6 separate regions of the Homo sapiens genome follow, and regions 1, 2, 3, 5 and 6 are each linked to region 4. Evidence: promoter capture Hi-C in 16 types of primary human blood cells and fetal thymus (Javierre and others, 2016). All regions are on one chromosome and are shown on one strand. The core of a region is centred on a gene start or on the middle of the fragment in contact, and the rest is flanking DNA. Distances in the headings are between cores, read along the strand shown.

Evidence for each region. Contacts are between HindIII fragments. The CHiCAGO score rates a contact against its expected background, and 5 or more counts as called.
Region 1: a contact is called between a fragment that was not itself captured here and the fragment with the promoter of MMP27 in region 4, in 2 of 17 cell types (M1 macrophages and M0 macrophages). The highest score is 6.1, in M1 macrophages.
Region 2: a contact is called between a fragment that was not itself captured here and the fragment with the promoter of MMP27 in region 4, in 3 of 17 cell types (M1 macrophages, M0 macrophages and monocytes). The highest score is 6.4, in M1 macrophages.
Region 3: a contact is called between a fragment that was not itself captured here and the fragment with the promoter of MMP27 in region 4, in 2 of 17 cell types (M0 macrophages and M1 macrophages). The highest score is 6.8, in M0 macrophages.
Region 5: a contact is called between a fragment that was not itself captured here and the fragment with the promoter of MMP27 in region 4, in 2 of 17 cell types (M0 macrophages and M1 macrophages). The highest score is 5.8, in M0 macrophages.
Region 6: a contact is called between a fragment that was not itself captured here and the fragment with the promoter of MMP27 in region 4, in 5 of 17 cell types (M0 macrophages, M1 macrophages, monocytes and 2 more). The highest score is 10.3, in M0 macrophages.

Annotation. Positions count from the first base shown.
Region 1 is chr11:102,473,979-102,477,558 of GRCh38, reverse strand. The region is part of intron 1 of LOC124902740 (a long non-coding RNA gene); the gene reads right to left. The region is part of intron 1 of LOC102723838 (a long non-coding RNA gene); the gene reads right to left. Among named protein-coding and RNA genes, the nearest start is that of TMEM123-DT, 23 kb to the right of the region's middle. RefSeq lists a silencer at 609-658. The HindIII fragment of the contact is 5,404 bases long and covers 1-3,580 here.
Region 2 is chr11:102,914,362-102,917,839 of GRCh38, reverse strand. No RefSeq gene overlaps it. Among named protein-coding and RNA genes, the nearest start is that of MMP13, 40 kb to the left of the region's middle. The HindIII fragment of the contact is 6,898 bases long and covers 1-3,478 here.
Region 3 is chr11:102,505,870-102,509,577 of GRCh38, reverse strand. No RefSeq gene overlaps it. Among named protein-coding and RNA genes, the nearest start is that of MMP7, 23 kb to the left of the region's middle. The HindIII fragment of the contact is 1,479 bases long and covers 1,662-3,140 here.
Region 4 is chr11:102,704,357-102,708,040 of GRCh38, reverse strand. MMP27 (matrix metallopeptidase 27) reads left to right here and starts at 2,272. Exons shown (of 10, transcript NM_022122.3): 1 at 2,272-2,428; 2 at 3,266-3,504. The coding sequence starts at 2,327. The HindIII fragment of the contact is 3,149 bases long and covers 1-2,472 here.
Region 5 is chr11:102,553,409-102,556,971 of GRCh38, reverse strand. No RefSeq gene overlaps it. Among named protein-coding and RNA genes, the nearest start is that of MMP7, 24 kb to the right of the region's middle. The HindIII fragment of the contact is 171 bases long and covers 1,665-1,835 here.
Region 6 is chr11:102,930,686-102,934,101 of GRCh38, reverse strand. No RefSeq gene overlaps it. Among named protein-coding and RNA genes, the nearest start is that of MMP13, 23 kb to the left of the region's middle. The HindIII fragment of the contact is 1,728 bases long and covers 769-2,496 here.

The sequences.
Region 1 (3,580 bases), core at 1,081-3,580, 230 kb after region 4:
CAGTGAACCTTTCAAAAGTTTGTATAAATCATTCCATATAGGCCTTAAGATGTTCCCCTTTCTTCTGAGTACATAATTCAACCCTAGACCACTTCACCTTAGAGGAAAAGGCCTCTAATATTGTCCCTATCAGGCCCCATAACTCAGCCATTTCCTGGTCAATTGTAGGAGGACCTGGGAGAAGTTCTGGCCACTTATTCCCTCTAGAGGTAAGACATTCATTTGGGGGCTTTCTGGAATGTCTGATAACCACAGTATAATCATGGGTGTAAAGAACACCCCTTAGTAGCCAGTGGAGGTTCCTATGAATGGGGTTATAAATGGCCACTAATCTTTCTAACTCCTCTCTAAATTTGATAGGCTCTTTCAAAAGTGGAGACAAAAGGGCTTTGTAATTTAGAAGATCTGTTTCTGTCCAAGGGACATGAATTCTTTGCAGTAGGGATCCAGGATATATTCACAGGAGGCATTGTATAGGAAGGTCTGTGGCTGAGGAGTCTGATTACAGAACACCAGGAAGTAGGAGGAGTTGTAAGGTACAGCAAAGCAAGACTAGCTGCACGTACCAGGGCCTGTGCCAGGTTTATTTTCTGGCTGTCAGCATTGACACAAGTGACCTGTATACTCTGAGCCTAGAGATCAGGCTGGAGTGCTCTCTGAAAATTTTGCAAGGAAAGGAAAGATAAAGCAGGCAGTTGATGTTTAAAGGATTTTCTAGGGAAGCTGGAGTTTTAGAACTTACATAAAAATTTGTGGAGGAGGTGGGACTGGATTTGGAGGAGAGTTTAAGCCAGTGGCCCAGAGATCAAAAGATCTTCTGGAGGATCAGGGACTGGAAGTTGGAGATAAAGGGGTATATAGGAACTGAAATTGTCTCCTTGCAAGTTTCACCCATTGTTCTTGGAATACATGTTTGCCTTCTTCACATGAGAGATTCCATATTTTTCAGAGAAAAAGATCTCATACTTCTCCCACCCTGAACCACTTTTCCAAGCTCCGTTCCTCCAATTCTTACTAACATGTTCCTAGACCTTTCACCATCTCCTTACATGCCCTGTTCTCAACATCCTTCTGATATTGAACAAAATATTCAAGAAGAGCTGTGAAACAGATGAGTACAACATAATTGAAACTGATAGCCTTAGGCCTATTCTAACAGTGTAAACATTTCAGAGCTCAGGGAATCCCTAAAGATGATCTAGTCTAAGCCCTTTACTTCACAAATGAAGAAACTGAAGTTAATTACTCATCAGAGCAAGGCACAAGACAGGCTCCTGGTCCAGTAGATAGTCAGGAGTGGACCCAAGCCTGGAATTTCAAGTTAATTATCTTATTCTATTTGAATTCTTATTCTGATGCAACACGGAAAACCCCCTGTTAGATCTGCAAGATCTAGCTCCCTGCCAAAGACTATTTATTCTCTCTAAAGAGATGATGAAATTATTTTAGAAAGAGGGCCAAATGTCCTATTTGAGAGGAATAATTTATAGTCATTTTATCTGTTTCTCATGAATTATCAGCTTCTTGGTAGCCTTTTAAAGAAAGGGTTAATAAAATAGTTTACAACTTGTTAAAAGAGCTATAGAAAATTATATTAAGTTCTTATATAAACTCTTTGTATGATACTTAAATTTTTTAGGTCAAACATAAACTGAATCTCAGTAAAAATTATAAGACAGAGGCAATTCAGCTTAAACCATAAGTGGTCCATGTCATACATCTTTTATCTCCTATAGAGAGAAAAATAAACTTAAGACTAATTTTTTAGAACAAGAAAGGATAACCCATTTGCATCCCTATTTATCACTTCCTTTCACTGTGTTCACTTTTTTCAGGAAAAAGTAAACCAAATCAAGTAGAAAATGTCAAATTTTTAGTGAAGACATTTAAACACTTCAAAAGGGTGAGCAGTTACATTCCTTTTAAAGAATTCTATCTTAATATTGATGAGAGAATAGTTAAAAAAGGATCATAAGGCCTCCTTTGCATGTAATATGTATAACGTATAGTGAGACAATTTGTAAATAATCTAGTGAAAAACTGGTTTTACTAATCTGTTTCCCTAAAATAAATCTGCCTATTTGTAATTGAGAACTTCCTGGAAAATGAACAATAAACACATAAAAGTTTTACTTTTATGTGCATTACAAACTTCGGCTGTCAACAATTTGCACAAATTATTTTGGGAAGAATCTTCTTATATACTCTTCCCTCTGAAAGACTGGTAATTTAAAATAGGAAAATGCACAATCATACAGTGTTAGAATTGCATTAGAGAGTCACATAGAGACCACTCTAGATTTTTTTTTTTTTTTTTGAGATGGAGTCTCACTCTTGTGGCCCAGGCTGGAGTGCAGTGGTGCAATCTCGGCTCACTGCAACCTCCGCCTCCTGGGTTCAAGCAATTCTCCTGCCTCAGCCTCCCGAGTAGCTGGGATTACAGGCATGCGCCACCATGCCCGGCTAATTTTTGTGGTTTTAGTAGGGATAGGGTTTCACCATGTTGGCCAGGCTGGTCTCGAACTCCTGACCTCAGATGATCCACCCGCTTCGGCCTCCCAGTGTGTTAGGATTACAGGCATGAGCCACTGCAGCTGGCCCACTCTAGATTTTTATCTTGAGAATTGCAGATAACCCTATTGGGTCAGTTTTCTTACACTGTAATCATCCTCACTTTTGATACTTCCATCTACTTCAGTGGTTTTCAAAGTGTGGTCTGGTAGCATAGACAACACCTGAGGACTGGTTAGAAATGCAAATTTTCAAGTCTCACATTAGACCTACTGAATCAGAAACTCTGGCGGAGGGGGCAGCCCCCATATTTTCATAGGTCTGCCAGGAGATTCTGATGCATGTCAAAGTTTGAGGATCAATGCTAGTCCTCTATAGCAATCCACCACATTTTGTTCCTTTATCCTTCCAAAGTTTTTACCCTTACAGGAACTATATCACCCCATAGAGATAAGAAAGGAAAAAGCAGCCCCTGACAACTGAAAGCTGGCCTGGCACTCATATTTAGGCCTTGGTGTGGAACATAAACAGTTTCACTGAACATTAACGTCAGACCAGAGCACTCTGTGATCATGACAAAAACAAGAGCACTCCATCACGATGTCTGAACAGAAAAACAAACATGTCCAAACCACAAAAATAACCAAAATATCCCCCATCCTAGCTAATATGAGAGGATCTTGCCTCTGCCAATTAAAGTTTTAGACTCAGTTTATTCCTGCCCCCTTCAATAAGATTTGTTAAAATACCCAGTCATAAAATTGCCTCTACTCCCTTGATAGCAACCAATCCTGGCAAAGCTCCACTTCTCAGTATCACCTAATACAAGCCCAAATCCTAAAATAAGCCTTTCTCACTCGCTTCTACTAAGATGTCCCAGGATGTGCAATCTGCCTTGCTATAAACGTAACCACCTAATGGGCTTGTTACAGTAGGTAACTAGTCAGACATGAGCAGGGCAGCAGAGGACCCCCCACCCCCAACACCACCGGGAATATCAGGCAACCATCAGGTGATGGTCAGGTGGTTGTTAACCATCTCTCTAAAATGATAATTGGTCACAGCCAGT
Region 2 (3,478 bases), core at 805-3,304, 210 kb before region 4:
CTCCTAATCCCCAATATTATCATCTTGGGGATTAGGATTTCAACAAAGAAATTTTGGGGGTGGGGCACAAACATTCAGACCATGGCACACTGAAATGCAACTTTGCATTTTTTCCTTCCTCTGAGCCCCTGGCACAACCATTGTTATATTTTCAGCTTCTGTGAGTTTGACTATTTTAGATACCTCATCTGAGTGGAATCATGTGGTATTTAATATTTGTCCGCTAATACTGGTTTATTTTATTTAGCATGATCTCCTCAAGGTGCCTAAAGTTTGATTTTATTTAGCATGATTTCCTCAAGGTTAGGATTTCTAACAGGATTTCCTTATTTCTTAAGGCTGAATAATATATCTTTATGTATATATATATATATACACACATATATATATGTGTGTATATATATATATACACACATATATATATGTATATATATATACACACACGCACACACACACACCCCTATATACTACATTTTCACTTTTTTTGAGACAGGGTCTCACTCTGTTGCCCAGGCTAGAGTACAGGGGCACCATCTCTGCTCACTCTCACTACAATCTCTGCCTCCCGGGGTCAAGCGATTCTCCTGCCTCAGCCTCCCAAGTAGCTAGGATTACAGGCGCCTGCTGCCACGCCCAGCTAATTTTCATATTTTTAGCAGAGATGGGGTTTCATCATGTTGGCCAGGCTGGTCTCGAACCCCTGACCTCAGGTAATCTGCCTGTCTTGTCCTCCCAAATTGCTTGGATTACAGGCGTGAGCCATCACACCCAGCCTATAATACATTTTTCCTTCCTTCCTTCCTTCTTTCTTTCTTTTTCTTTTCTCTCTTTTTTTTTTTTTTTCCAGAGTCTTGTTCTGTCACCCAAGCTGGAGTACAGTGGTACAATCTCAGTCTCAGCTCACTGCAACCTCCACCTTCCAGATTCAAGCGATTCTGGTACCACAGCCTCCTGAGTAGCTGGGATTACAGGTGCATGCCCCCATGCCTGGCTATATTTTGTATTTTTAGTAGAGATGGGATTTCACCATATTGGCCAGGCTGTTCTCAAACTCCTGACCTCAAGCGATCTGCCCACCTGAGCCTCCCAAAGTGCTGAGATTACAGGCGTGAGTCACCACACCTGGCTAATACATGTTCTCTAACCATCCATCTGTCGATGGACATTTAGGATATTTCTACATCTTGGCTGTTAGGAATAATGCTTCATTGAACATGGGAGTGCAAATACATCCTATTTTCAGTTGTTTTGAATAAACATTCAAAAGTGGTATTGCTGGATCACTTGGTAGTTCTATTTTTAATTTTTGAGGAATCTTCAAACTCTTGTCCACAGTGGCTGCGCAATTTTACATCCCCACAAACAGTATATTAAAGTTCTAACTTCTTCACATCCTTGTCAACACTTGTTATTTTCTGTTTTATTTAATGATGCTATCCTAACAGGTGTGCAGTAATATCTCATTGTAGATTTGATTTGCGTTTCTCTGATAATTAGTGATGTTGAACATCTTTTCATATACCTGTTGGCCATTTGTATGTCTTCTTTGGAGAAATGGTTATTCAGTCCTTTGCCCAATTTTTTTAAAAAATGGGTTATCAGTTATTTTTGCTATTGAGTTGTAAGAGTCTCTTATATATTTTGGATATTAATCCCTTATCAGATATATGGTTTGCAAATATTTTCTCCCATTCCATAAGTTGACTCTGTTGATGGCTTCCTTTGCTACACAGAAGCATTTTAGTTTGATGGTGTCTCACTCGTCTATTTTTACTTTTGTTGCCTGTGGTTTTAGGGTCATATCCAAGAAATCAATGTCAAGACCAATGTTATCAAGGTTTTTCCCTATGTCTCCTTCTAGAGTTTTTGTAGTTTCAGGTCATATATATATGTCTTTAATCCATTTTGAGTTGATTTTTGTGTATGGTATAAGATAAGGGTCTAATTACATTTTTTGCATGTGAATAATGTTTTCTCATTTTTAAAAGTTGAGTATTGAAATCTCCCACTGTTATTGTACTGCTATTTCCCTATTCACTTCTATCAATGTTTGCTACATATAATTGGGTCCTTGGATGTTGGTTGCATGTATGTTTATAGCTGTTTATCTTGCTGGTGAATTCACCTTTTTATCAATAAATAATGTCCTTCTTTGTCTTTTGTCATGATTTTTGACTTAAAGTCTATTTTATCTGTCTTTGAGTTCACTGATTCTTTCTTCTGCTTGACTAAGTCTGCTGTCGAACCCCTTATCTTAATTTGTTGGGCTACTATAACAAAACACCTTAGACTGTGTTGCTCATAAACAACAGAAATTTGTTTCTCAAAGTTCTGGAAATCGAGAAGTCCAACATCAAGGTGCCAGCAGATTTGGTGCCTGGTGAGGGCCCACTTTCTTCATAGAGGAAGATCTTTCCACTGTAACTTCACATTGTATTCTGCAGCTCCAGAATTTTTGTTTGGATCTTTTTTATATTTTCTCTTTGTTGACATTCTCATTTTGTTCATGTATCACTTTCTTGAGCTCTTTAAGCATCTTTATAACATCTTGACTTTTTTCAGGCAACTCATATACCTCTGTTTCTTTAGGATCATTTTTTGGAGGTTTATTTTGTTCCTTTGATTGGGCCAGGCTTTCTGTTTCTTTGTATGCCTTGTAACTGTGTTGGGATCTACACATTTGAAAAAACAGCCACCTCTCCCAGTCTTTATGGGCTGACTTTGAACAGGAAAATACCCTCACCAATTATCCCAGCTAGAGATTCTGGGGGTCTCTCAAACTTTTTCTGTGGGTGCATTATCTCTGTCTTTGAGCACATAAATTCTGAATTAGAGGGATTTGCCAGTTTATTTTTGGAGGAGCTCACGATCTCTTGCTCCCTCTGGTGTCTGTCTGCAACACTGAAGATTTTCTGGAGCTGCTTCAAGCTGCCCCATTCTGTTTTGGCTTTAGCAACCTCCAGGCTTCTAGCATATTCCAGGTCCTGTCAGTGCTGTGAGACTAGGGATACAGAAACCAGTGTCTTGGGCAGCTCCCAGAATAGTTGGAACATGGACATACATGGAATTCTTCTCTTTCTACCCCAACGAGGAGGCTATGGAGCTGTGTTGGCCTCTATCTGCTATACCACAGGTCCTCCTAAGCAGTATCAAGCTGCCCAATTCTTTTGTTGTCAGTGGTCCCTACATCTCTATATTGTCAGGTCCTGTCAGTGCTCTGAGACAGGTGAGACAGAAACCAATCCCTTGGCAGCTCCCTGAAAAACTAGAACATTGAACACATGCTCCAGTAATTTTCCTCCCCAGGGAAAAGCCAGGAGTTGGTGGTTTTCTCCTACTTATTTTACAATGAGCCAGGAGGAGCAAGTACATCAAGTGAGTGCTGCAAATCTTCACCTTTGTTCTTAGCAGCCTTCAACCTGACACTCTTTCCTGTCTGCACTTAGATTCAGGCAAGACAGAAACCAGTCCCTTGACC
Region 3 (3,708 bases), core at 1,152-3,651, 200 kb after region 4:
TTTACCCCATAGTTGTGCAGGCTATACAAAAAGCATGGCGCCAGCATCTGGTTGGCTTCTGGTGAGGGTTTTTGTGCTAAGTCTTAACACGATGGAGAAGGTCAAACAGGAAGCAGGTGTGTGTGAAGCAGGGCCCAAAACTGAGGGACATCATGGTTTTATAACAACCTACTCTCAAGGGAAATAATCCGTTCCCCTGTGAACCAATCCAGTCTCCCAAGAACAACAACTCATTCACTACTGCAAGAACAGCACCAAGCCCTTCAAAAGGAATCTGCCTCCATCACCCAAACATCTTCCACTAGGCCCCACTTCCTGACACCACCACACTGGGGGTTAAATTTCAACATGAGATTTAGTGGGGACAATCTGTATCCAAACCATAGCAACCATTTTCCAGGCCCTGTTCTAACCTGAAAGACACCATCCTGAACAGAGCAAGCCCTTGTATGCACATAGACCCCACAAAGTAACCACAGTGAATAGAGAGGCCTAGAGACTGGGAGCTCTGAGCTGAGTCTCGCTTGTGGTGAGATCCCACAGGAAAGATCCCTATATTTCAAATAAGCTGCTGAAGATCCCAGAAATACTGTAAAACTTTTCTTTCCCACGCCCTGGTTGTTCATTGGTTTCTTTAGGATTTCATAAAGCATTCTAATGTTCTTCCAATAAATTATTTTTTGGCCATGCTAGCACAAAAACAAATGAATCTAACTATAAAGGGAAAAAATAGAATGTAGTAGTATTCCTCTCCTTGTTGGTGTTATTCACCATTTTTGCCATGAAACTTTCCAGAAAAATAGAGTCCAACAATGCAGAATGAAGACCAGATCAAAGGTGACTGAAGTGGTATATAAAAAAGTAAGTTAATTATTTTTTTCTCCCAGTGCCAACCTAGTGTGAAGCTAACCACAGCTGTTCTCACATCGTTGTTGTTGTTGTTGTTAAGTTGTTGTTGTTGTTGTTAATGTAAAAATAATCATATGAAACAGAAAAAATATTGAACTATGTCTGAAGTTCTGTTTTGATCCTAATTATGCTCTAACTAGTAGGGAGGACTTGGGCTTTCTTCTCTTAGCTACGGATCATCATTTATTTTAATTCCCTTCCTTTATAAAGCAAGACTTACGATCCTTCTAGTTCTAAAATTGAACGATCAACTAAAAAGATACTATTTGTTGATAATCTTTTATGATTTTAGAATCCTTTACATGTCAAAATATTTTGTTTCACCCTGGAGTAAATTTACGAATGCTACCAATTCTATTATGAAAAGCAAGGATATGAAGGAAAACGTGTGTTATCAGAATCACTCATTGGGGCTCTACAAGGGAAACAACCTAGCTTACAGAGTTTAAAACTGATATAAAAGGAGCCACTTCTCTTCACCTGGCTACTTCTGGAGTTCTTCACCTCTCAGTCTATATGTCTTGACGTCCAGAATACCTTCACTGATCTCACACTCACCTAAACCTGCTTAGATGCTCCTCTTAAGAGCTGCCTCGGTAACTAACATTTTACCCCTCACATTCATCACTTACCTCATTGAATTAACAATCTTCTGTTTAATTAAGGAGTCCACTCTAGATTGTCAGCTTCTTAATGGAATTGGATATATATATATGTGTAAAAACAGTTATTTCGGAAATTAAATGAAAGCTTCACTAACATAAACTTCCATTAAGGTTATATTCAAATTATTAAATCATTCAAGTCACTCCCAAAATACAGAAAATTGAGTTATCCACAGTACATAATTAGATCAATGCCTAAGAAATTAAGGAAAAAGAGAACTTTAAAAAGAACCACAGGTGAGGATTCTAGGAAGATGGCAGAGTTGGAACTACCAGAAATCTAGCTCCTCACCTAGATGACAATTGCACTGGAAGAATCTGTCTGATGTAACTATGTTAGAACTCTGGAGTCAATGCAAGGCTTCCATCTTCCAGGGGACAGCTTAGATAGTAAATTGTAGTGAATTTTGGTGAATTTCAGCTCTTAATACAGTAGCGGCTACCCATCCCCCACTCTAAGCCCAGTGGCAGGCAATTGTGCACCTGTTCCTGGAGCAGCTTTATATAATACAACTTTCATACAACTTTGAGAGCCAGGGTGGACGAACAGGACCCTGTCCTGCAATTATTAGGTATTTGTGCTCTGATCTCCAGATTGCTGCTTCTGATCACACAAAGAGGTTATGGCCATTGTTTTTGCATCTCCCTCACTGTTGCAAGCTCTCCCCAACTGACTGAAATAACTTCCAGGGGATTTAAACGGCCAGCACTTTTTCCTCCTTCATTTTTCTCTTTTTCCCCTTTTGGGACCAGACACTGAAGACACAACCTTAACAGACAACTGCATATACAAGGGAAATCAGAAAGCCATCATGCATGCTCTAGGGTAGGCTCAGGCTCAGAAAAGACCTGAGAAGACCTTAAGTTTATACTTCATGCTGATCCTTGGCACAGAGACCACCTATAAGAATACAAAAAAAGGCCGAGGGTGGTGGCTCACGCCTGTAATCCCAGCACTTTAGGAGGCCGAGGCAGGTGGATCACGAGGTCAGGAGATCGAGACCATCCTGGCTGACAAGGTGAAACCCCGTCTCTACTAAAAATACAAAACAATTAGCTGGGCGTGGTGGCGGGCGCCTGTGGTCCCAGCTACTCGGGAGGCTGAGGCAGGAGAATGGCGTGAACCTGGGAGGCAGAGCTTGCAGTGAGCCGAGATCACGCCACTGCACTCCAGCCTGGGCGACAGAGCGAGACTCCGTCTCAAAAAAAAAAAAAAAAAAGAATACAAAAAAAAAAAAGGCAAGGCAAACCCTAGGGATGGGAGAGAATCTGACTTCCAGAATTACCATATCATTAGATTCAAATGAGATCCTTTGGAGGAGAAGAGGCATTCTGGTTTTTGAAATATATGTATTGCTATAATGCTTGGAAAGAAATAAATACAGAGTTATTTCTAATTAAAAACAAAAATAAAGGAACACAGGGAAACCCTGGGTGGTGTTAGATATTTCTATTACCTTGATTGCGGTGTTGATATCATGGGTGTTTACTTATGTCTAAACTCAACCAATTGTACACATTAAATATGTGTAGTTATCTGTGTATCATTTATAACTCAGTAAAGCTTTTTAAAAATAATTTCAGGTGGCATAAAAGAGCTACCACAAACAAAGTCTTATTGAAGTTCCTTGGAGAAACCAACATTTACCTATGAAGAAAATGAAGAAGCATAAATTAAAAAGCAGTAATTCAGAGTTCTATATACCTGTCACCATGAACTTTCTGATGTTTCTGGTCATTTTCCGTAAACTGGAGGCCATTATCCTTAGCAAACTAACACAGGGACAGAACACCAAATACCACATGTTCTCACTTATAAGTGGGAGCTAAATGATGAGAACACATGGACCCATAGAGGGGAACAACACACCCTGATGGAGGGTGGGAGAAGGGAGAGGATCAAGAAAAATAACTAAAGGATACTCGGCTTATCACCTGGCTGATGAAATAATCTGTACAATAAATACTTGTGATGCAAGTTTACCTACGTAACAAACCTGCACATGTACCCTGACCTTAAAAATTAAAAAAAACAAACAATTAGTTTATATTTTCTTTTAATTTTTACATAAAAGAAATTTCAGGTGATTCCTTTGGCAAAGAGGAATTTTTGATTTCATTCACTAGCGGATTG
Region 4 (3,684 bases), core at 1,023-3,522:
ACAGAGACACAATACAAGTTTTCTGGTTAATGAGAGGATGACAGTTCTACAACAGACCCAGACTGGAGAAGGCAAGCAAGGGGTCTCAGAGGGATGAGTTCAAGGGAAAAAAACTGCTGCTATATTTCCTGTCATGTTTGGTTATTCTGAGAGAGTTTAAGAGTTCTATGGAAGAATTTGGTAAAGAATTAGCATATAAAAATCAATTCAACTATCAACTGCGGAGAAAAAAGGCTATACAAGAAAGGAGATGTAAGGCCAGGCATGGTGGCTCACACCTGTAATCCCAGCACTTTGGGAGGCTGAGGGGGGTGGATCACCTGAGGTCAGGAGTTCAAGACCAGCCTGGTCAACATGGTGAAACCCCATCTCTACTAAAAATACAAAAATTAGCCAGGCATGGTGGTGCATGCCTGTAGTCTCAGCTACATGGGAGGCTGAGGCAGGAGAATTGCTTGAACCCGGGAGGCAAATGTCGCAGTGAGCCGAGATTGTGCCAATGCACTCCAGCCTGGGTGACAGAGCGAGAGTCCGTCTCAAAAAAAAAGGGAAAAAAAAGAAAAGGATATGTAATCATAGTATACTACGTGATTCTCTTGTGAATAATATTTTCATGGTCATAATTGTATGAACGCTGATTACGGGCTTAAACATTCCTATAACCAAATTAGGAAAGCAGAAGGAGTGTTAAGTCCTTCTTTTCCATAGGAAGATGTTAATAATAACATTTAACTTTGAAAACTCGAGAAATAGTAGCATAAGCACGTTATTTACAAATGTGGAGTTAAACATAAAGATAAAAAGCTATAAAAATAATTTAAAGAAGTTACCTTTGGGGAGCAGGACTTGAAGGAGCGAAAGGTTAGGGCAGAGAGATGCTTTTTCGTTACAACAAGATAGCACCATTTGACTTCCCTTTTTCTGGTAACTCTATTTTTTTTTAAATTTTGTTCTGAAATATTTTAGAGTTTAAAAAACACAAAAGAACAATACAATGAGCATACTTGTACTTAGCATACTTGTACTTAATACCATTATAACACAAATCCTGATCATGTCTGCCTTCTCCCCTTCATCCCATTGCTCCAGAGGCCAATTAAACAATTTAAACTATATACATATATTAAAACAGTAAATAATAATATTTCTGAAACAAGATTTATAACTGGGATGAGCTTTAAATGCAAAGGAAGTATGTATCTACTTAGATCCTATAAGTTCCTCAGCTATGCCATATAAATTTTGTTTAGGATATGGACAAGGAAGATTTAGAAAGGTGTATCGATTGAGGAGTTAACATTTGGGAAGAAAGGGAAGAAAATTTTAATAATTGGTAGAAGAAAAGGGGAGGACAAGTGAGGGAGGACATTGCTGTAACTAAGACTGTTCCTTCATCTAAAAGTAGCCCAAGTAAAGAAGAATATATTGAAATTAATCCAAAAGGCTCTCACTAACTATATTCTCACTTCTGATGTTAATTTTGGCCTTCATCATCCATGACCTCTATGACTCTTCATCTTCCCAGTCAGCTGTCTTGTCCATGAGACCCTCCATCCCATCTTCCATAGCTGTCTACATATGTATTTTGTTCCAGTCAGGCCAGATTTCCTGCAGCTTATTTCTGCTGTGTTACCTCCTTCCCATGGCCTCTTTGCACTCATACTTCTTCTTCCTTCCTCTGTAAATCCAAATTCTACACATTCTCCAAAACCCAGAGCAAGCCCTAGTGCAAGCCCCAGTGCAGGCTGTATTTAACTTGCATAAAACCTCAAGGCCACACTCATAAGCAATGATCTGCCTTTGGCCCTTCTTAGTCTTTACAATCTGCACTGTGTATTTGCCCACTTGCCTCCTTTTTGTCCTACATTAATTTCTGTATGTGTCTGAATTCTCCAACAAGATTGCATTCACAGGGGCAGGCAAACAGTAGGAATTCAATAAACATTTGAAGTTTATCTTAGTTAATAAGGGTAATCTGACTCCTGATTCATTTGTCTTTTTATGATAACATCCTACCAAGATATTCTGAGATTGCCTTCAAAAGAAAACTTTGCAAGGAAAAAAAAATAACTTGGAGGCTCACTTCCCAGTATATTCAATTCAGTAATAAGCACTAACTGTGTTTACTAAACAATTGCAGGCCAAGATTACAAAATCAGCTCAGTCAAAAAAAAAAAAAAAAAAAAGCAAATCATGACACACTTTATGGCAAGTGTCCCTTTCTGTTATTAATTAAATGATGATACAAGCCAATTCATGCCACGTCTCACTATTATTTTCTAAATTCTGTGCTAACAGAACCGGCTTCAGCTGAAGAAAGAGAGGAATGAAGCGCCTTCTGCTTCTGTTTTTGTTCTTTATAACATTTTCTTCTGCATTTCCCTTAGTCCGGATGACGGAAAATGAAGAAAATATGCAACTGGCTCAGGTACTGTCTTAATAAATGATATCGATGACTATTGATAAAAAGCTTATTTTATTGATTCTCTTGGGACCTAAAAAGAAAACACATTCCTGCAAAAGAGTCCTGAACTTTTTTGTGAGAAGGAACTGCTTTTCATTTGTCTATCTCTGACGATATCAGGAAATTGTGTTGGGGAGGAGGGCTGGCACAGGGAGGGGGAAAGGATCTGCTATAACTTTTAGCAATGGTCACAAATGAAGGGATGTTTAGTGCGAGGAGAAAGGAGAGAGCCCTGCAAGGTATGGAGATCACTATAAAAGCATTTCAAGACAACCAGGAGGACCCAATCTACAATTTGGAGCCCTAATCCCTATATGTATGAAAAAAAATACATTGCTTTACAGATTCCCTCTAAAAATCAGTTCAGTTAACTTTTTATTTTTGGTTAAAGCAAATACATGTGCAAAATGGATAATCACTTATTTATCCTAGAACTTGTTTCAAAGAAACACCAAAATGAAAGTAACAGCAAAAATATGTAAGATAGGTCATCATTCAACAGACAGACGAAGCTTCATTCTCTTCTGTGGAGGTTTAAGAGCTGCGTGCTTTGGCTAATTCTGGTCACTCATAAGTCAACCAAGTCTTGGAAATTGAAAGAGCAGGGTGACTCGTTATTTTCCTCTTTGTGTCCTTCCTTTCTTCTTTCCTCCTTCACTCCTCACTTTCTCTCATTACTTCTTTTTTTTCCCCTTTCCTATTGCCAGAAGGAATTTTAGGCAATTTTGCTTTATCCTGAGATGGAGATTTGCTCTCCTGTAGTCTGTGCCTCTTTTTTTTTTTTCTTATCTTTTTGGTCAGGCATATCTCAACCAGTTCTACTCTCTTGAAATAGAAGGGAATCATCTTGTTCAAAGCAAGAATAGGAGTCTCATAGATGACAAAATTCGGGAAATGCAAGCATTTTTTGGATTGACAGTGACTGGAAAACTGGACTCAAACACCCTTGAGATCATGAAGACACCCAGGTGTGGGGTGCCTGATGTGGGCCAGTATGGCTACACCCTCCCTGGGTGGAGAAAATACAACCTCACCTACAGGTAATGCTTCTGCCAGCTTATTTCCGCCTAATCCAAAGGAACATAAAGATAATTTCCAAGGAACAGAATAATATTCATTCAATTGACTGAGCACTTCCTGTGTGCACAGCACATCTTAGGCTCCATTTACGGTATCTTCCCAACAAACCTGTGCTGTAGGCTCTGCTGCTACCACCATCT
Region 5 (3,563 bases), core at 501-3,000, 150 kb after region 4:
AGTAAACTAAATCTCGTTAGGAAGATTCCCCTCCATGACACTATTATGGTCACTGTCCTCTGTACATACTGCCACGGCCACAGACACCACGTAAACCTGCCTGATACCCTTACCATCTTAGGCAGCAACCATACAGCCTTCAGGGATGAGCCCCAGGAAGAGGGCTTCCAACATGGAATTTCCCACCCTTGCTTTATTACATGGCTACTGCAGAGCCCAATATGAGAGAAGTCAATCAAGTGGTACCTGAAGGCAGCAAGTACACTACATTTTCTGAACTCTCTTGTCATGAATTTTTCATTGCCTCGGTCTAAGCTAGTCCTTGTACTGGAAAATAGGCTGCCTGGGAGACTTCCCAGAGCACTGACTATGCCCAGAGCACTGACATAATGACATAAAAGAGTGCATTTGTATTGACTGCCTTCCTACAGCAGGCAAAATGGTTGTCGCAAAGTCACATCTTTCCTTTTTCTCAGAGTTGGCAATCTCTGAAAAGTGGTTTGTGAAGCTCGCTCCACCTAGAAGCAGGGTGATATATGGGAAGAATATAAAGTTGATGGTCACTCCTCTATGTTCAAATCCTGTCCGACTTTATAAACTTGCTCAAATTACTCCTTGAGTTTGTTTTCCTGAATGAAAAATGGGGATGCTAAACACAGTAAACCGTTTGCAGAAATGGCCACAGTAATTCTTACCAGCCCTGTACATGTGCCCACTTAAATGTGAATTTGCCACTCCTTTTATATTGAAGTGGAATTTATTTTTTTATTCCTTAAATCTAAACTTCAATTTGGGCTTGAATAGGGCATTATCAAATGTAATGCAAGCAGAGGATTGAAAAATATGTACACATTGGAGCTTGAGTTGTCTTGCTGTTAGAAACCCTGAGACCACCATGTGAAGAATTATCAGCTAGTCTTCCAGAGAATGGGAGGTTATACAGAGAGAAGTCAGCCATTTAAGCCATTTTAGCTGCCTCAAAAGTCCCAGCCTTCCCAAACATCCCAGCCAACCATAGATACCCAAAAGCTAGATAAAATGTTTATTTTAAGCCACTGTGTTTGGAGTGATTTATTACATAGCAAAAGCTGATACAATAAAATAATGATTACTAATGTGCATAAAACGTGTTACATGGTGTTAGTTCAATAAATGACTACACAAATAAATATTAAGTGACTTAGTACAATTTAAGCTTGTTGTAGAAAAGGAAAAATTATCTCTACCACTGAAAATATTTCCTATCACATAATAGCCTCCTAATAATTTTTTGAATACATTGACAGAGACTAGTTGCCATTCTTTCTCACAGCACAGAATTGCTTTAATGTAATGAAGAATATATTTCAAGATCTCTCAAGGGCCTGTAGGGTAAAGAAGGAAAGCTTCACCTTTGCCCTCTGAAGGTTTGCTGAAAATAAACTGACAAAAGGCAGATTAATAGGAGAAAAAGTCATAAAAAATGTATTTAATGTGCATAAGCATGGGAGAATCACAGGAAAATGATTGCCCAATAATCCAATGAGGTCCGGATGCTTATATAGCCTTCTTCATACAGCACGGAGTAAATAACAAAGTTCCTTTGAGCTCGGAGGGAGGTGGTGAGAAGGCAAGGGGCAGAACTTCACAGTGAACAAAGGTAGTCTTATTATCCAGTTAAAGCTTCCCAGTTAATCTCCTGGAGCTGCCCTCAGAAGAATAGATGGAAAGTCTGTTTAGGCATGGTGATGACTCCCAGTATCTCCTCTTCTCTAGTGGTTAATCTTTTCTGGTTATTTCATGTGATTCTTAGGAGGGATATTTTAAGACAATTGCAATTCTCCTTGTAAGAAGCTTTCTTAGTCAGAGAAGAAAATTCCACAGAGTCCCTTCTTTCTTCATGAAGAAAAAGGATCAGAGAGACAGGGAGGAAGGGGAAGGTCAGAGAAAGACCTTGGTTCTGAGGCTTATTTCTAAGCTCCTTCAATTTTCTTTAATTCCAAGCACTCAACATGCCAAAGCACCATATTTTGGGGTATTGCTTTCTGTACCCCAAAAGGCCTCACAACTAAATTTTCAGTATATCTAATATTTTTTACTTAGATTTTCTGTTCTTTAAAGGTACACTGTGGTCTAGATCAATGTGAGTTACTAAATCCATATTGTTGGTAAAGTCTACTATTGCTATTTTATAATAGGATAGAAAAAGATTATAAAGTATCACCAAAGTTCTGAAATGGAAGTCTTAATGGAAAGGACTGCTTCTTTACCCAGGAAGAGGGTAAGTTTTGAAGAGTGTCTCTGTCTCTCAGAAATAAGATCCAAGGGGAAAAAGAAGTTCGGTAAGGTTTCCAGTAACTTCCAGCTATAACACAAAATGGAGGGAGTCAGGATGTTAGATAAGCCAACTGCTTTGTAAGATTTTACTTTGTTAGATTGGGAACATTAGTAGTTTTCCCAAGCTCGTTATCTATGCTATACTTATTTCTAAATAAGAATAAAACCCTTGAAATGAAACAAGCATGTATAATATACATTCTTTTTTGTTTGATTCCTTTTGCTCATCATTATGTCTGAAAGTCTTATTCATACTGCTGCATGTAGGTATAATTTGTTCATTCTCACTGTTGTTTAGAATTTAATTGTATGAATATATTACAATGATTTGTAATATGTTTGTCCATTCTGTTGCTAATGGACATTGGGTTGTTTCCCTGCTTTAACTGTTGCAAACGGTGCAACTATGAATATTCTTGTGAGTATCTATTAGTGAAACTCCATGTGGTAGAGAGCTTCTAAAACAGTTCTTAATGGTTCCTGCCTCTGGCTATTCTTGTCCTGTGTAATCCCCACCCTTGTGTGTGAAGTGGATGTAGTGATTCATAACAAACAGAATATGGCAAACATGATGGAGCGTTGCTCTCTAAGATTAGGTTATTAAAGGCCATGACCTTGGACTTGCTGGGGATCTCTCTCTCTCTTGCTCATTCTCACTCTCACTCTTCTTGCTTGCTTTCTCTGATGAAGCCGCTGCCTTGTTTTGAGCTGCCCTATGGAGAGTCTCAGTGGCGAGGAATTGAGGACAGACTTCTGTACGGACCTGAGGTCATCATTCCAACAACACATGAAGAGCTGAATCCTGACAACAACTTCATTGGTAAGCTTGGAAGTGGATTTTCCCCCAAACAGGCCTTGAGGTGACCACAGCCCTGGCTGACTGCAGCCTTGTGAAATACCCTGAGACAGAAGACCCAGCTCAGCCACACCTGAACTCCTGACCCACAGAACCTGCTATAATAAATGTTGTTTTGGCTATTACGTTTTGGAGTGATTTATTATTAGATAACTAATACGTATGCATTTGGGAAAGTAAAGGCCTAAGAGTATATGGAAGTGGAATTGTTTGGCCATAATCTATGCATACGTTCAGCTTTAATATATACCACTAAATTGTTTTCAAAAGCAGTCATTGTCATGTACACTCCCAACAGCAGTGTGTGAGAGTTTTTATTGAGTTCTACTGAATGATCTTTGTTATTAAGCTTTTAGTATATGCCAGCCACTAAGTGCCTTACATGTGCTGT
Region 6 (3,416 bases), core at 383-2,882, 230 kb before region 4:
TTGTCACAAAAGTTCTATTTTTGTTCTTATGAGTGAGGAAGAAAGCACAGAGAGGTGAAGAGACTTGCCCTAGGTCACACAACCAGTATGTGGAAGAACTGGGATTTGAACCCAGCCATTCTACCTCTAGAACTATGCACTAAACTGAAAGAATGGATCTACAGCACTTAGCAGACTCCTTGGCACATAGCAAGTGCTCAGTAAGTCATAGCTGCTACTTCCTCAATCCTGAAGATGGCGGTAAAAGTGGGTCATGTGTGGTAGAGGTATGGGTGAGAGGTCTCACGAAATCACACACAAACCTCACCCTCAACACCAGTATCTGAAGTCATTCTTTCAGGTTTACAGCAGTGGTCCTCAAGTACTTCCTCTGTCTGTACAACCTCAGGGCCACTTCTCAGTTTAGTCAAATAATTAAGTGTTCGTATATCTACTGTGTATTTTTGAGGACATAAAGTTCTGTTTTAAAAATTCAAAAAAAAATCTAGAATTAAAACTAAAAACATGAATCATGGTTTTTTTTATTTGCAACTAATAAGTCTTGCCTCCCTTCATTTGGTTCTGGACAAACAGAGGGTCCTTCCTCGATGGGTGGTGGAATCAGAAGATCCTTCTGCCCTTTGTGAAGACCATTCGACCTTTTAGCCAACTACTGAACTATCCACACTAATGGTGATTATTGGCATGGGAATATGGTGGCTTAGGAAACAGGAACAAATGCCCAAGAAAAGATGCATTATTATTGGTCCACAGAATAAAGTTTAAGCTTTGTTTGAGGAAACAGTTTTTCTTTTACTAGATATCTTAGTTAGGCTAGTTTTAAAATTCATCTGTATTTCCTGAGCATATACAAAGCCAAGGGGGAACGACCCAGTGGTTTCTAAAATACAAAGAATATTAGCCAGTCATCAGGAATTTCTCTCAGGGAAAGGTGAAGACCAGATGGGATGATGGAAGCACTGTACTTGGGACATAAAACATCTGAGACTAAAATCTTGCTGGATCCTCAAGTGGGCACAGACAAAAAGTGTCGACATCCAATGCTTCCCTGAACCTATTTACTCCCATACTTACACAACTTGGCCATGCCATATGACCCAGTCAGCTGAAGTACAAGGTAGTCATTTTTTCCAAACATATGCCTGCCTTTATTTCTACATCAGTAATTGAATCAACTCTGAGGATTCATAGAGTTGCTGAAAACACCAAATCCTCTTGAGCCTTAACCCATTCTTTTAAAACCACGTGGAGTGTATGTAGTCATTCCACAGACAGCACATCGACATGGCCATACCCTTAGATCACTGAAACGTGTCTCACGCTATCCGGAGGATATGTTCATATCTCTCTGCCAGCTCCAGTAGTAACTGACAGTTGATGCTATCAACTCCCAATTCCTCCTCGAGAAAAGGAAGAAGATACTTTAAGGTGTTCCCTTCAGTGGTATAGTCATTGATGATTCTTTACTTAGTGAAGAAGGATTAAGACTTTGGACCTGGGGGTAAAAACACACCCTGTAGAAGCATAGTTTTATACCAGCTGAATGTATGTTACTGAACATGAAATCACAATCATCAGAATTGAGTCAAGTTTGAGAAGGCTCTCTGTATATCCCCTCTAGGCTAATTCCCATAGCTGGAGCTCTCAGGAGGTGGGCAAGCTACCATTAATAAAACTGTCGTCCAAATTTCTTAAAATAAAATTTAACTCTGAGTTTTTGTTCATTCCTTCCTAATTCACTAGGGATAGCAATACTGTGTATATAGCAAGTCAATTCTGATTACTGAGGTTGTTGGTATATTTCTCAGGGAGGAACTAAAATTAGGTTTAGGTTTAAAACTGAGCCAAGCCACTCATGTGAGAAGTTTAAGTAAAAAGTGCCAGAATAACATACAAAAGACACTTCAAAAGAAAAAAAAATTAAAAGTAGCAGGACATATTTAGTTCATCATATAAATTGACTGGCAGGTTAGAGTTGCAAGATATCAGATTATTTGATCTATATAATTTTACCACCTAGGGTTACACATCATTCCCATGGCAAAGTAGGTACATTCTCATGGTTGCTGACCACTGGCAACATACTTGGTGACCAAGGGCAGAGTAGTCTGGGAAATAACAGGCCCCTGAAATTAATTGGGTCTCCCTTCTTACCCTCAATGAAAGTGCAAAAACTTCCAGTATTCCAGTGACTCCCCGTGTAGCTTCTCTCCGAGGTAGTATAGTTCTACTACAATCCCTAGACAACCGCTCTGTTAAGACAGAGACTCATTTTATCTGTGTGGCACTGAGTAGTTTCATCTTTTACCTGTGACAAAGGATAGCGACTTTGGCATGCCCTCCCAGGCTGGCAGTCCCCGTTGTGATGGTTCCTGTACCTGAGCTATGGTGACGAGGTGACTGTGATGATCACCCGCAGGCCAGGGCTGGCTGTAGGACCTTGAATGAATCTAGCAGGTTTTCTGCTTTGGTGAGAGTCATGTTGGCTACAAAGCTTCCCAGGTTCATGGTCTTATTCTGACTCAGAAACACCCCTGTGTATGAAATGCTGGTCACTGGCTTAGAGGAGGGTTTAGACAACAGAAGCTGATTACAGTGTGCAAGGAGAAAGGGAAGAGAAATGGGAGGAAATAAGGGGCCTTGGAATGGAATAAGAGAAAGAAAAGACTGCATATTCTGCAGCTATTCACCCTGCTACAAACTGCTGTGCCCAAAGGGCACTTGGGAGATGTGCCTCCCACCCCAAATGAGTACACATTAAACAGTGCAGAAGTGGAATATGCTGTCTGGAGCGTGTGTGTATGTGTGTGCTCATCAGGGGAGCTATTACATCCACCTAGTCCTATTTTCCTGCAGCATGGACCACAATAAGAGCACATGAGCCCTAGAGCACAGCGACTGGAAGATCGACAGCCCAAGACTAGAGGTGGTCCCACAGCCTCTGCAGACCCAAAGATACACATTTAAATTCCCTCTCTGGAGATACCCAGAATTTCTTTTGGTGTTTTGGCCACAGCAGCACAGCTGTCAAATGTGATAATGCAGCACAGTAATGCCAAAAAAATAAAATATCAAAGTTTGAATTTGAGCTCTAGCACTTTCAAGCACCTCTGTATTTCACATTCTTGTGCATTAAAATGAAGATAGAAATACTTGCCTTGCCTACCTCACAGGTTGCTCTAAAGATTATATAAAATAGCATCCTTGAAACATGTAAATGATAAAGTATGTATTAACATGAAGTATTATTGGTTATTCCTAGATCCCAGCTCCCTCTCCCTCCTTCCCTTTTTTCCTTCTTTCCTCCCCTCCCTCCCTTTCCTTCCTTCCTTCCTTCCTTCCTTCCTTCCTTCCTCCCTCCCTTCCTTCCTTCCTTCCATCCTTCCTTCCTTCTTACATTCCTACTATCTTCTAAG